3 separate regions of the Homo sapiens genome follow, and all the other regions are linked to region 3. Evidence: promoter capture Hi-C in 16 types of primary human blood cells and fetal thymus (Javierre and others, 2016). All regions are on one chromosome and are shown on one strand. The core of a region is centred on a gene start or on the middle of the fragment in contact, and the rest is flanking DNA. Distances in the headings are between cores, read along the strand shown.

Region 1 (3,429 bases), core at 379-2,878, 860 kb before region 3:
CGGGCGAATCACGAGGTCAGGAGATCGAGACCATCTTGGCCAACATGGTGAAACCCCATCTCTACTAAAATACAAAAAATTAGCTGGGCATGGTGGCACATGCCTGTAATCCCAGCTACTTGGGAGGCTGAGGCAGGGGAATCGCTTGAACCTAGGAGGCAGAGGTTGCAGTCAGCTGAGATCGCGCCACTGCACTCCAGCCTGGCAACAAAGCAAGACTATCTCAAAAAAAAAAAAAAAAAAAAGAAATGACATCTTGCAGAAAGATGAGTCTCCACAAGCCATTGTAAACTTGAGAAAAGAACTTGAATTTGAGAAAGCATACCTGAGGCTAAACCAATACATTTATCACCCAGCTGAGAAGCAAATAGAAACAACCTGGTTTGGCTGAATTAGTGAATTAATATCTAGTTATATGTGCTTATTTTAATAGAAAGTTGCAGTCATATGAAGAATAAAGAAGTAACATACCACACAAAAACAAAGCCAAAATAACCAGAAGAGCTCCCAGCAGGGTTATGTTGTAGAATCCTCATCCCGTGTGTCTCTTTCCAAGTGCCACAGTGGTTGTAACCTGCCGGGAGGGCTTTTCCTCCCTTAAGCTTCTTTGGTAAACAAAAGAGTTGAAATAAAAGCTGCTGAATGAAAATAAATAAAGGTTTATGGCTAGAGAAACCTGTCTGTGTAGATGAATTAATCTTATAGAGAGTCCCCCAAAAAGAGAAAACAGTGGGCACATTATTGCCAAGTAAACCTGGCTTTTTAACACCTTTCCAGGTAAGCTCAGCCAAGAAACAGGAAGATTTGTCCAGTGTCAGGACAGGGCTTTCGAATTTAGAAGGCTTCTTGCTTTACAAAATGGAGGCAAGGTGGCCATTGGGCCAGAGACATTGGAAGGTGGTGGCTCACGGAGATTCACTCTAGGTCAAGTCCCTTATAAAATTATAGGGACTCCCTTTCCCCATTTCAAACTCACAGAATGACTGTAAAACTTGTGTTTATTTCAGGTGGGTAACTCCTCCCACATGAGTGGTCTGCCTACCCTCAGGAATATTTTTTGTCTGTGGTACCTCAGCCTATCATTGTTTGAATGGCTCTTCAGAATCTATGTGCTTCCTCTCATTCTTAGTGCCTCCTATGACCATCTACACTGAACAAGATTTATACAATCATGTACCTAAGCCCCGCAACAAAAGAGTACCCATTCTTCCTTTTGTTATCAGAGCAGGAGTGCTAGGTGTGCTGTGTGGCGGTATCACAACCTCTACTCAGTTCTACTACAAACTGTCTCAAGAACTAGATTTATACAATCATGTACCTAAGCCCCGCAACAAAAGAGTACCCATTCTTCCTTTTGTTATCAGAGCAGGAGTGCTAGGTGTGCTGTGTGGTGGTATCACAACCTCTACTCAGTTCTACTACAAACTGTCTCAAGAACTAAATGGTGACATGGAATGGGTCGCCGACTCCCTGGTCACCTTGCAAGATTAACTTAACTCCCTAGCAGCAGTAGTCCTTCAAAATCGAAGAGCTTTAGACTTGCTAACCACGGAAAGAGGGGGAACCTGTTTATTTTTAGGGGAAGAATTCTGTTGTTATGTTAATCAATCTGGAATTGTTACCGAGAAATTTAAAGAAATTCAAGATCGAATGCAATGTAGAGCAGAGGAGCTTCAAAACACTGGACCCTGGGGCCTCCTCAGCCAATGGATGCCCTGAATTCTCCCCTTCTTAGGACCTCTAGCAGCTATAATATTGTTACTCCTCTTTGGACCCTGTATCTTTTATTTCCTTGTTAAGTTTGTCTCTTCCAGAATTGAAGCTGTAAAGCTGCAAATCGTTCTTAAATTGGAGCCCCAGATGCAGTCCATGACTAAAATCTACCAAGGACCCTTGGACTGGCCTGCTAGCCCATGCTCCGTGTTAATGACATTGAAGGCACCCCTCCCAAGGAAATCTCAACTGCACAACCCCTATTATGCCCCAATTCAGCAGGAAGCAGTTAGAGCGGTCGTCGACCAACCTCCCCAACAGCACTTGGGTTTTCCTGTTGAGAGGGGTTACTGAGAGACAGGACTAGCTGGATTTCCTAGACTGACTAAGAATCCCTAAGCCTAGCTGGGAAGGTGACCACATCCACCTTTAAACATGGGGCTTGCAACTTAGCTCACACCCAACCAATCAGGTAATAAAGAGACCTCACTAAAATGCTAACTAGGCAAAAACAGGAAGTAAAGAAATAGCCAATCATCTATTGCCTGAGAGCACAGCAGGAAGGACAGTGATCAGGATATAAACCCAGGCATTCGAGCCAGCAACGGCTACCCTCTTTGGGTCCCCTCCCTTTGTATGGGAGCTCTGTTTTCACTCTATTAAATCCTGCAACTGCAAAAAAACAAAAAGCAAAAAACAAATGTTTATTTAAATAATAGCTAATACTTAAGCAGCATTTGCATATGCCAGGAAATTTATGTATATGAACTCCTTCAACTCTTACAATAATATCTATTTTGCTGATGGGGAAACCAAGTCACAGATAGGTTGAAAAACTGGACTAAGACTGCAGAGTGAGGATTTGAAATTGGGGCTACAGTCTGTGTTCTTAACCACTGCATTTTAGTGCCCCTTGCTTAAAGCATTATTTACTGCCTCTTTCAAGCTTTTATACAAATAAGAAACATAAAGCTGCACATTTCAACTCGAGTGACCATTTCCACTTGGTTCCGTTATCTTCTAACCATTTTAATAAACAAACTCATCAAACAGAAAAATTAAGTTTAAAAAAGTTGTCATATCCTGTTTAATGGCAAAATACAATTTTAGCAATGCTCTTTTGATATAAACATAAAAATATTGAAAGCATAAATAAACTGTCAGGCCAGCCAAATAGTAATTATTTTGACATTAAACAAGATATTCATCTGTTTTCCTGAGTAAATAATCTCTGACAGCATCTAAAAGACAATGAGATCACGCAGCATTCAGGCACTAATGTACTCACTACATGGGGATAAAAGAAGCAAATGTTGGTGGATCAAAGGGGGCTCAGAGCAATGAGTAATGTAACACTCATCTCAAATTAAACAGCCATCTCCATGATGTGATGCAGAGTTTTATCTACCCCACTTTCTTTAGCAGCTGGAAGAAGAGAAGCAGTATTCCTGGGAGAAAGAGAATTAGGGAGGAGGGTATTCATGGCCTGGACAGGATGGAGAAGGGGAAATCAGCAAAAGAATAGAGGAGGCCACCTTGTGTTCTGGTTCCTAGTCTCCTCCATGAAATGGATGAGTATCCATCCATTGCGCCCCATTCTAGTTTGACGGCACCCAGAGTCCTTTATCTTAACCCATGGATGTCTGCCTTTTGGAGCAGTCATGTTTAAAATGTTCTACTGTGAAGGGTCCCGCTCTAAGGGGAACCCAGAAAACT
Region 2 (3,648 bases), core at 22-2,521, 950 kb after region 3:
CATGGTGACCAAATAAAGCTTGCATCATGCCATGATCAGTGCTGCACTATGCAGAAGCTAATGCTGACATGTGATAGACGATGACCAGGATGCATGACTTGCCCACTTCTTTTCTGATAGCCCCAGCTCTGATTTGTTTCCATTTGACAACACTGAATGAGTGGTACAAAATTATTGTCCCTACCTTTGTGTAATATTCAGAGAACTGAGTAGATGCCTAGAGATTCAAAAAAGGACCAAAATAACCAGAACTCTTGAGAGCGTACCTAATTACACAATCATTAATAATCAATATAGCTTCACAAAGAACTTGTCCTATGTAGATAATAGACAGTCATCCTATTACATAGCAGAGTGGAAGGCCTGATGGATCACAGAAAATTAACTGATGAACCCTAAGCTGGACTTTAGGAAGGCTTTTGATTCTCTCCTACAAGGCATGCTAGGAAAATAGACCAGGAACAGACAACTGTTGATTCATTAACTATAGATTGGCTGGGGAGTTCTAACTAAAGCATTCAAATTGAGGAGACGACAAATGGTGTTTTTGATATCAACCCGAATAACAGACAGAAGAGGCCAAAAAATGAAATTTAGAAGGTAAAATAACAATTTAAGATAAAATTGTACAAATAAGAAACAAAATGTAGATTAAACGTAGTATGGAAAAATGTGTTCAAAGTACACACCTGAATTACAGGAGCTAATTAGAAATTGTTTGCATAGAAATATGACTGTCAGTAGGCATTGCTGTAGCAGTTTAAAATACTGTTTTGACAATGAATACCGAATTAGGACTGACAGACAAATGCATGTTGTCTACACCCATGTTAGCACTTAACATGTTGTATTGCCATTACTTGTTGGCAAATCTTTCTCTCCCTCAAGGTTTTTGTTAAATCTTACTGTATTCCCAGCACCTAGCAGAGTCTGGCAGAGAGAGGATTTTTCAATACATCCTCAGGAATAAATGAGATCATCTCCCATCTTCCTCAGATACCTTAATAAAGCACTAAACTCCCCTCAGAGTGCTATATTTAAAGATGGATATGAATAATTTGCTGAGCATTCAGAGGAGAACTTAAAAAGGTGGGGAGTTGATAAATGAGAATTGGATTTTTCCGTTTATAGAAGAGAAAGCTGGGGGGTAAATTAGTTACAATTTTCTTTTTGAAGAAATCTTACGCAAAAGACATCTTTTTCTATTAAAAATGTCCAAAAGTGTCTGGGTTAGAAGCCCAGATTAGGGAAATGGACCATTAAATATTGGAATGGATAACAACAGAAAAAAAAAAAAAACCTCAACTAAAATATATTTTACTAAATGCTTTCACAAAAGAGCTAGCTCCTGAGCTCCAATGAAGACTCACGTATAAGCCGCTGTGAATTAAGAAGCTGGCCTTTCAACCAAGCCCCTTACGTAAGAGCCAAGACTCCACAATTTCATGATAAATGAGTAACCAGCCATCATCAGAGAGTTTGCACAATTAAACTGACAATTCAAAACTCAATTTTATTTTCATGATATTTATGTTCAAGTTATCATAGAAGTCTGTATCAACAGAATATAAAATATACTATTGATGTATAGAAATTAGATTTCTGGAAAATCCCATACTTATTTCTTCATGTATATTTGCATAGATTTCTATTTTTTTATTAGCTGGTTATTTCTTAATTGAGAGTGTTCTAAATAAAACCTGATATTAAATACAATATAATTATTTCAGTTCCAAAATACATCCAGTATACCCAGTAAATATGGCTTTAGTAAGAAATTGTGAGAAAAGAATCCCACTCTAATTGATTCTCACCTATGTATCAAATATTATTTTGTTCTATTCTTCAATCATTATTTTTTCTTTTTTTTTTAGCTGGGCAGCTCCCTAAACCAGAATAGGTTCAGAGCAACTCCTGGTCATCATTTTTTATTTGCAATATAAAAACTGTTATATATTATATTAATTATAATTTATAATTATAAATTATAATATAATATATTAACTGTTCTAATAACCCATTTGTCACTATAAATAGCCTTTGAGTTTTTCTTCCATTCCAAAAAGGAGTAAAAGGTCCCCCAAACCAATTGATTTAACACCAAATTTAAATAAACCCAAAGACCCTCTCACTTTTCACATTGAGTAGAACAAGGTCAGACTGGGCATCTTCCAAATGTAAAGGCTTAATTGGACTAATTCTTTCATGATAATAATGTATATTTAAGATAGCCACTAAAAATTGTCAATGCTAATTTAGTAGATCAATTCCATTAAATGCTTTGAACTTTTCACCACTTGCTAATCTCATCTATTACAGCTGCTGTTTTTGTTGAAAATCTAAGCTATAACTTAATATCAAATTACAACATTTCTAGGCAGACCTAAAAAATACTTTCTTATATGTGAAATATAACCTAAAAAGACTGTAAGTTGTGTAAATTGTAAGATTCTAGCCATAAAATTTCCTGCAGTCAAAATGCAGAAAGATCTTATCAATCTATTGGCAATTGACATTATGGTAAGAAGCTTATGGGTTTTTTTTTAACATCTTAGAAATAAATGTTTTATTGTATCTAAAATAAAGCTTTAACATTTGTGATTATTGATTGTAGACCCACCTTTATACACTAAATGGTTCAGACTGTAACATCAAACATAATGTAATTTAGGTAATACTTCAACTCACGTCAGTAGAAATGCCAAGGTTGTGCTCAACATTTAGGTGAACAATGTAAGGAATATGCTCATTAATGTAAAAAATAATATATTTGTTATTTAGCTAATGAAGAATTTTGAGACCCCAAACCACTATCGAATATCCAGCATGCCTTATTTGTCTGGAACTAGACTTCTGAGGCTATTTTTATTCCCTGTGATTTACCACCAGTATCCTCTGGGTGATAGTTGAGGAAACAGATGCTGGGAATCTCTCTGCTCAGTTCCTGAGAGGAGAGTTCTGACTCACAGCCTTGCCAGCTCCCTGCTTTGTACTCACATAAGCAAAGGGTGGTGAAGTAAAACGTAAATGACTGCCTGATTTCCAGTCTCTCATTGCCAGTTTCCTCAAAGTTTCCACTTACGCATTTGCCTCCCTTACCAATTTCGTTTGAAGTTCCTTTTCCAAAATCCTGAACGGCATGTTCCCAGGATACATTTACTTTTTCAAAAAAATTCATTCAGTGGGGATTTTCCAACTGAAATTAAAAAAAAAAAAAAGGAAGACTGGAGAGGGGGCATTCTTTTTTTTCGGCTTTTTCATTTACTGTCAATTGATTGTATTGATATCTGCAGAAGGAAGATGTAGATTTTTTTAAAAAAATTGTAAAATGTTCCCCTCTAAGCTCTAAGCACATTTTTCTTATGGAAAATCATAAACCTTCCTAAAAGTTTCCTGTATTCTGTTATTTATTGTGAAAGGATTTAAACTAACATAGATATGCTTCCATTTGGAGATTATACTTAAATTGTTAGTTTAAAAAAATTAATCTTTATTAAATGTCCACAAGGTATAGAGCATTCTTCTTTCTTTGTGCGTCTAGGCTGACAAAAATACACAGGGGGAAGAAATCTATGAAGTTTAAATACCTTTTATAATGAATTTAAAACAGAAGCATACGCCACATTATAGACTGAGAATTCAATTTCA
Region 3 (3,544 bases), core at 612-3,111:
GTGAGCCGAGATCGCGCCACTGCACTTAAAAAAAAAAATTAAATAAATAAATAAATAAAAATTATTTAGGACCTTATCTGACTGGCTATAGCACAACTGAAATAGCAAAATCAAGATTGAAGGGCTATTTTCAGCACAGGTATTCCATTTCCAATCAAACTCAAGAACTCCAGCAGTGCAGGAACCACAGACCTCTTTAACTTTGTGCTGATTCCTAGGCATCCACCCTCTACTGGCTCCCCTCAACCTGGGGACATCCCTCCCCCATCCTGCAGCAACTTCGGGTCCATCAGTAGTCCACATTTTGGTAGGGCTTTGTTTATTCACAAGTCCACAACCCTGGAAGGAACTGGCTCCCTGGGCTGTGATGGCGCCTATTCTAAAGACTTCCTCAGAGTGGAAATTTAGGCAACAACAGCTCAATCGCTCTTTTATGACAAGTCAATCAGTAAAACAATGATAAAACCTCGGTTACCATAACTTAGAGGCTGTAATAGATTAACTTTTCAAGGGCACTTGATATAAGCTCTGAGTAGACTCTTTAGAGTCTTTATTCACACAGGGTTTTAGGAAACCACCCTCTTTCATAACTACTGTGTGTAAATAACCTCTATTTATCTAATTTGTAATTTTCCTACAGTCCCCTCAAAAGGGAACATTAAAAGAAATACTAAAGGAAGTTGGAAAGTTTGTCAATGTAAAGCTGGTCTTTGTAACCTTTCTACTCTTCATTTCCTGTGGCAATTGCACTTTTATTTCCCGTCTCTCTACACTCAGTAAACAAAACCATATTATCAAGGGAAAGACGTGAGCCCATTAACATTGTGAGCCCTCAGATTTCACTCACAAGAGACGATGCAGCACTTATCTGATGGAGCAGAAGCTCTAATTGCTTCGAGGTACAAGTCCATCTAAACCTCTGAGATCTCACCCGTCCCCGGTAAGCCCTTGCGCCCTCCAGACAAGCTCCTCAGTGAAAGCAAGCGCCGCACCGGTGCCTGTGCCAGTCTCCCAGAAAGGAGCATAAGGAGTGTTCCACCACCACTCTGGATTCTTTATTCCAACAACCCAGCCGGAGGGGAAAATCTGCTAAACCACCCCACAAGGCAGAAACTTTATCAAAATCTGGCACTACAACACTGGCCCTCATCACGCCGCCACAAATTGCGAGGGATAGAAGAAAGCTGCAAAGTCACGTTAAAAGGAAGCCTAGTCAAAAAGTGAAAATTTTGTCCCGCCCTAGGCACACAGCACTCACAGCATAAGATGTAGTTCCATGAGTCCTAGGAAAGGGGGAAGAAAGGAAAAAACCAAACATCTGCTCTAGGTTTAGAAGAGGGATAACATCAGCGCCAAGCAAACCGAAAGCGCAGAGGACTCAGAAGAGGGGAAGAGGAATAACTTTATCTGTCCTGGAGGTGGGCGAAGAGCAGTCTCCACCGGCCGCGCGTCACGCTCCCATTTAACCTTTTCCATGCCGCGACGCCCACACTCCGCCCTCGAGGGACTAGCCCCCCCCACGATCCAGAGCAGAAGCGGCTCGCCCCGCTGCATCCACGGGCCCTCACCCAAGCGTCCAGTCCTGCCTTTCTCCCCCCACCTCGCCCAATACCTGTCCGAGAGCAGGCGTTCTGCCCTCTCGCCCCGCCCTTGCCCAGGCAGCCCCCGGTCGCGACGGCTCTCCTCGGGGCTCGGGGGCGCTGGGCGGCGGCCCTGGGCTGCTTTGGCTAACTTGGCTGCGGGGCAGGCGCGAGGAGCGGCGCGCCGACCGGGCCGAGCGGAGAGGCCGCCCATTGGCCGGCCAGCGCCACGTGGCCGCCCCCGCCGGTATATTAGGCCACTATTTACCTCCGGCTCACTCGCCATGGGTTGGAGAGGGCAGCTCGGGTAGAGAGGGCTGGCGGAGCGGCGCAGACGGCGGCAGTCCTGCTCAGCCTCTGCCCGGCTCCGTACTCCGGCCCCGGCCTGCGCCCTCAGAAAGGTGGGGCCCGAACCATGAGCTCCTACCTGGAGTACGTGTCATGCAGCAGCAGCGGCGGGGTCGGCGGCGACGTGCTCAGCTTGGCACCCAAGTTCTGCCGCTCCGACGCCCGGCCCGTGGCTCTGCAGCCCGCCTTCCCTCTGGGCAACGGCGACGGCGCCTTCGTCAGCTGTCTGCCCCTGGCCGCCGCCCGACCCTCGCCTTCGCCCCCGGCCGCCCCCGCGCGGCCGTCCGTACCGCCTCCGGCCGCGCCCCAGTACGCGCAGTGCACCCTGGAGGGGGCCTACGAACCTGGTGCCGCACCTGCCGCGGCAGCTGGGGGCGCGGACTACGGCTTCCTGGGGTCCGGGCCGGCGTACGACTTCCCGGGCGTGCTGGGGCGGGCGGCCGACGACGGCGGGTCTCACGTCCACTACGCCACCTCGGCCGTCTTCTCGGGCGGCGGCTCTTTCCTCCTCAGCGGCCAGGTGGATTACGCGGCCTTCGGCGAACCCGGCCCTTTTCCGGCTTGTCTCAAAGCGTCAGCCGACGGCCACCCTGGTGCTTTCCAGACCGCATCCCCGGCCCCAGGCACCTACCCCAAGTCCGTCTCTCCCGCCTCCGGCCTCCCTGCCGCCTTCAGCACGTTCGAGTGGATGAAAGTGAAGAGGAATGCCTCTAAGAAAGGTAAGTCCGCGGGCCTTGGATGGGGCCACCTGGGGTTGGGGACGGAGCCTCCCCCGCGGAAATGCGCTGGGAGCGTGGTGTCGCTGCCTTTCCAGACAGCGGTTTGGGTTTTGTGGAGGAGACGCGTTCCCGGGCGAATTCCATGGAGTCTGCCTCGAGTACAGATTCGGAAAATGTGCCAGGCATTGAGAAAATTTCAGGAAGGAGCTCTCCGTGGAACTTCTCCTGGTACAAATTCTGTTCCTAGGGACCCAGGAGGGCTGCGCTGGGACTTTGATTCTAACTAGCTCCACTGCTCACCCACATTCTGTCCCCGGCCTCAGGCCTGGCTGACGCCCTGTCTTTACGTTGCAGGCAAACTCGCCGAGTATGGGGCCGCTAGCCCCTCCAGCGCGATCCGCACGAATTTCAGCACCAAGCAACTGACAGAACTGGAAAAAGAGTTTCATTTCAATAAGTACTTAACTCGAGCCCGGCGCATCGAGATAGCCAACTGCTTGCACCTGAATGACACGCAAGTCAAAATCTGGTTCCAGAACCGCAGGATGAAACAGAAGAAAAGGGAACGAGAAGGGCTTCTGGCCACGGCCATTCCTGTGGCTCCCCTCCAACTTCCCCTCTCTGGAACAACCCCCACTAAGTTTATCAAGAACCCCGGCAGCCCTTCTCAGTCCCAAGAGCCTTCGTGAGGCCGGTACTTGGGGCCGAAAAACTGTGGCCTGCAGAAGTCCCAGGCGACCCCCATCCCTATCTAGACTTAGGAGCTCAGTTTGGGATGGAGGTGGGAGAACAAAAATGAATAGGGATTTCACTTGGGAAATGAAGTACTTTAGTTGGCTTCCGAGTTCCAGACTATATGTCCAGATATTAATTGACTGTCTTGTAAGCCACTTGTTT

Evidence for each region. The method cuts DNA at HindIII sites, captures the fragments that hold promoters and counts their contacts. A CHiCAGO score of 5 or more calls a contact.
Region 1: a contact is called between a fragment that was not itself captured here and the fragment with the promoter of HOXD1 in region 3, in 1 of 17 cell types (neutrophils). The highest score is 6.1, in neutrophils.
Region 2: a fragment that was not itself captured here is called in contact with the fragment with the promoter of HOXD1 in region 3 in 4 of 17 cell types (naive CD8 T cells, total CD8 T cells, naive B cells and 1 more); the score reaches 7.1 in naive CD8 T cells.

Annotation. Positions count from the first base shown.
Region 1 is chr2:175,324,140-175,327,568 of GRCh38, forward strand. No RefSeq gene overlaps it. Among named protein-coding and RNA genes, the nearest start is that of ATP5MC3, 140 kb to the left of the region's middle. The HindIII fragment of the contact is 2,057 bases long and covers 601-2,657 here.
Region 2 is chr2:177,140,641-177,144,288 of GRCh38, forward strand. All of the region lies in intron 1 of LOC105373760 (a long non-coding RNA gene), which reads right to left. Among named protein-coding and RNA genes, the nearest start is that of MIR4444-1, 70 kb to the right of the region's middle. The HindIII fragment of the contact is 2,510 bases long and covers 17-2,526 here.
Region 3 is chr2:176,186,807-176,190,350 of GRCh38, forward strand. HOXD1 (homeobox D1) reads left to right here and starts at 1,862. Exons shown (of 2, transcript NM_024501.3): 1 at 1,862-2,647; 2 at 3,002-3,544. The coding sequence starts at 1,996. The coding sequence ends at 3,336. HAGLR (HOXD antisense growth-associated long non-coding RNA) reads right to left here and starts at 2,152. Exons shown (of 3, transcript NR_033979.2): 1 at 2,008-2,152. MIR7704 (microRNA 7704) reads left to right here and starts at 2,037; the gene lies at 2,037-2,095. The HindIII fragment of the contact is 11,390 bases long and covers 1-3,544 here.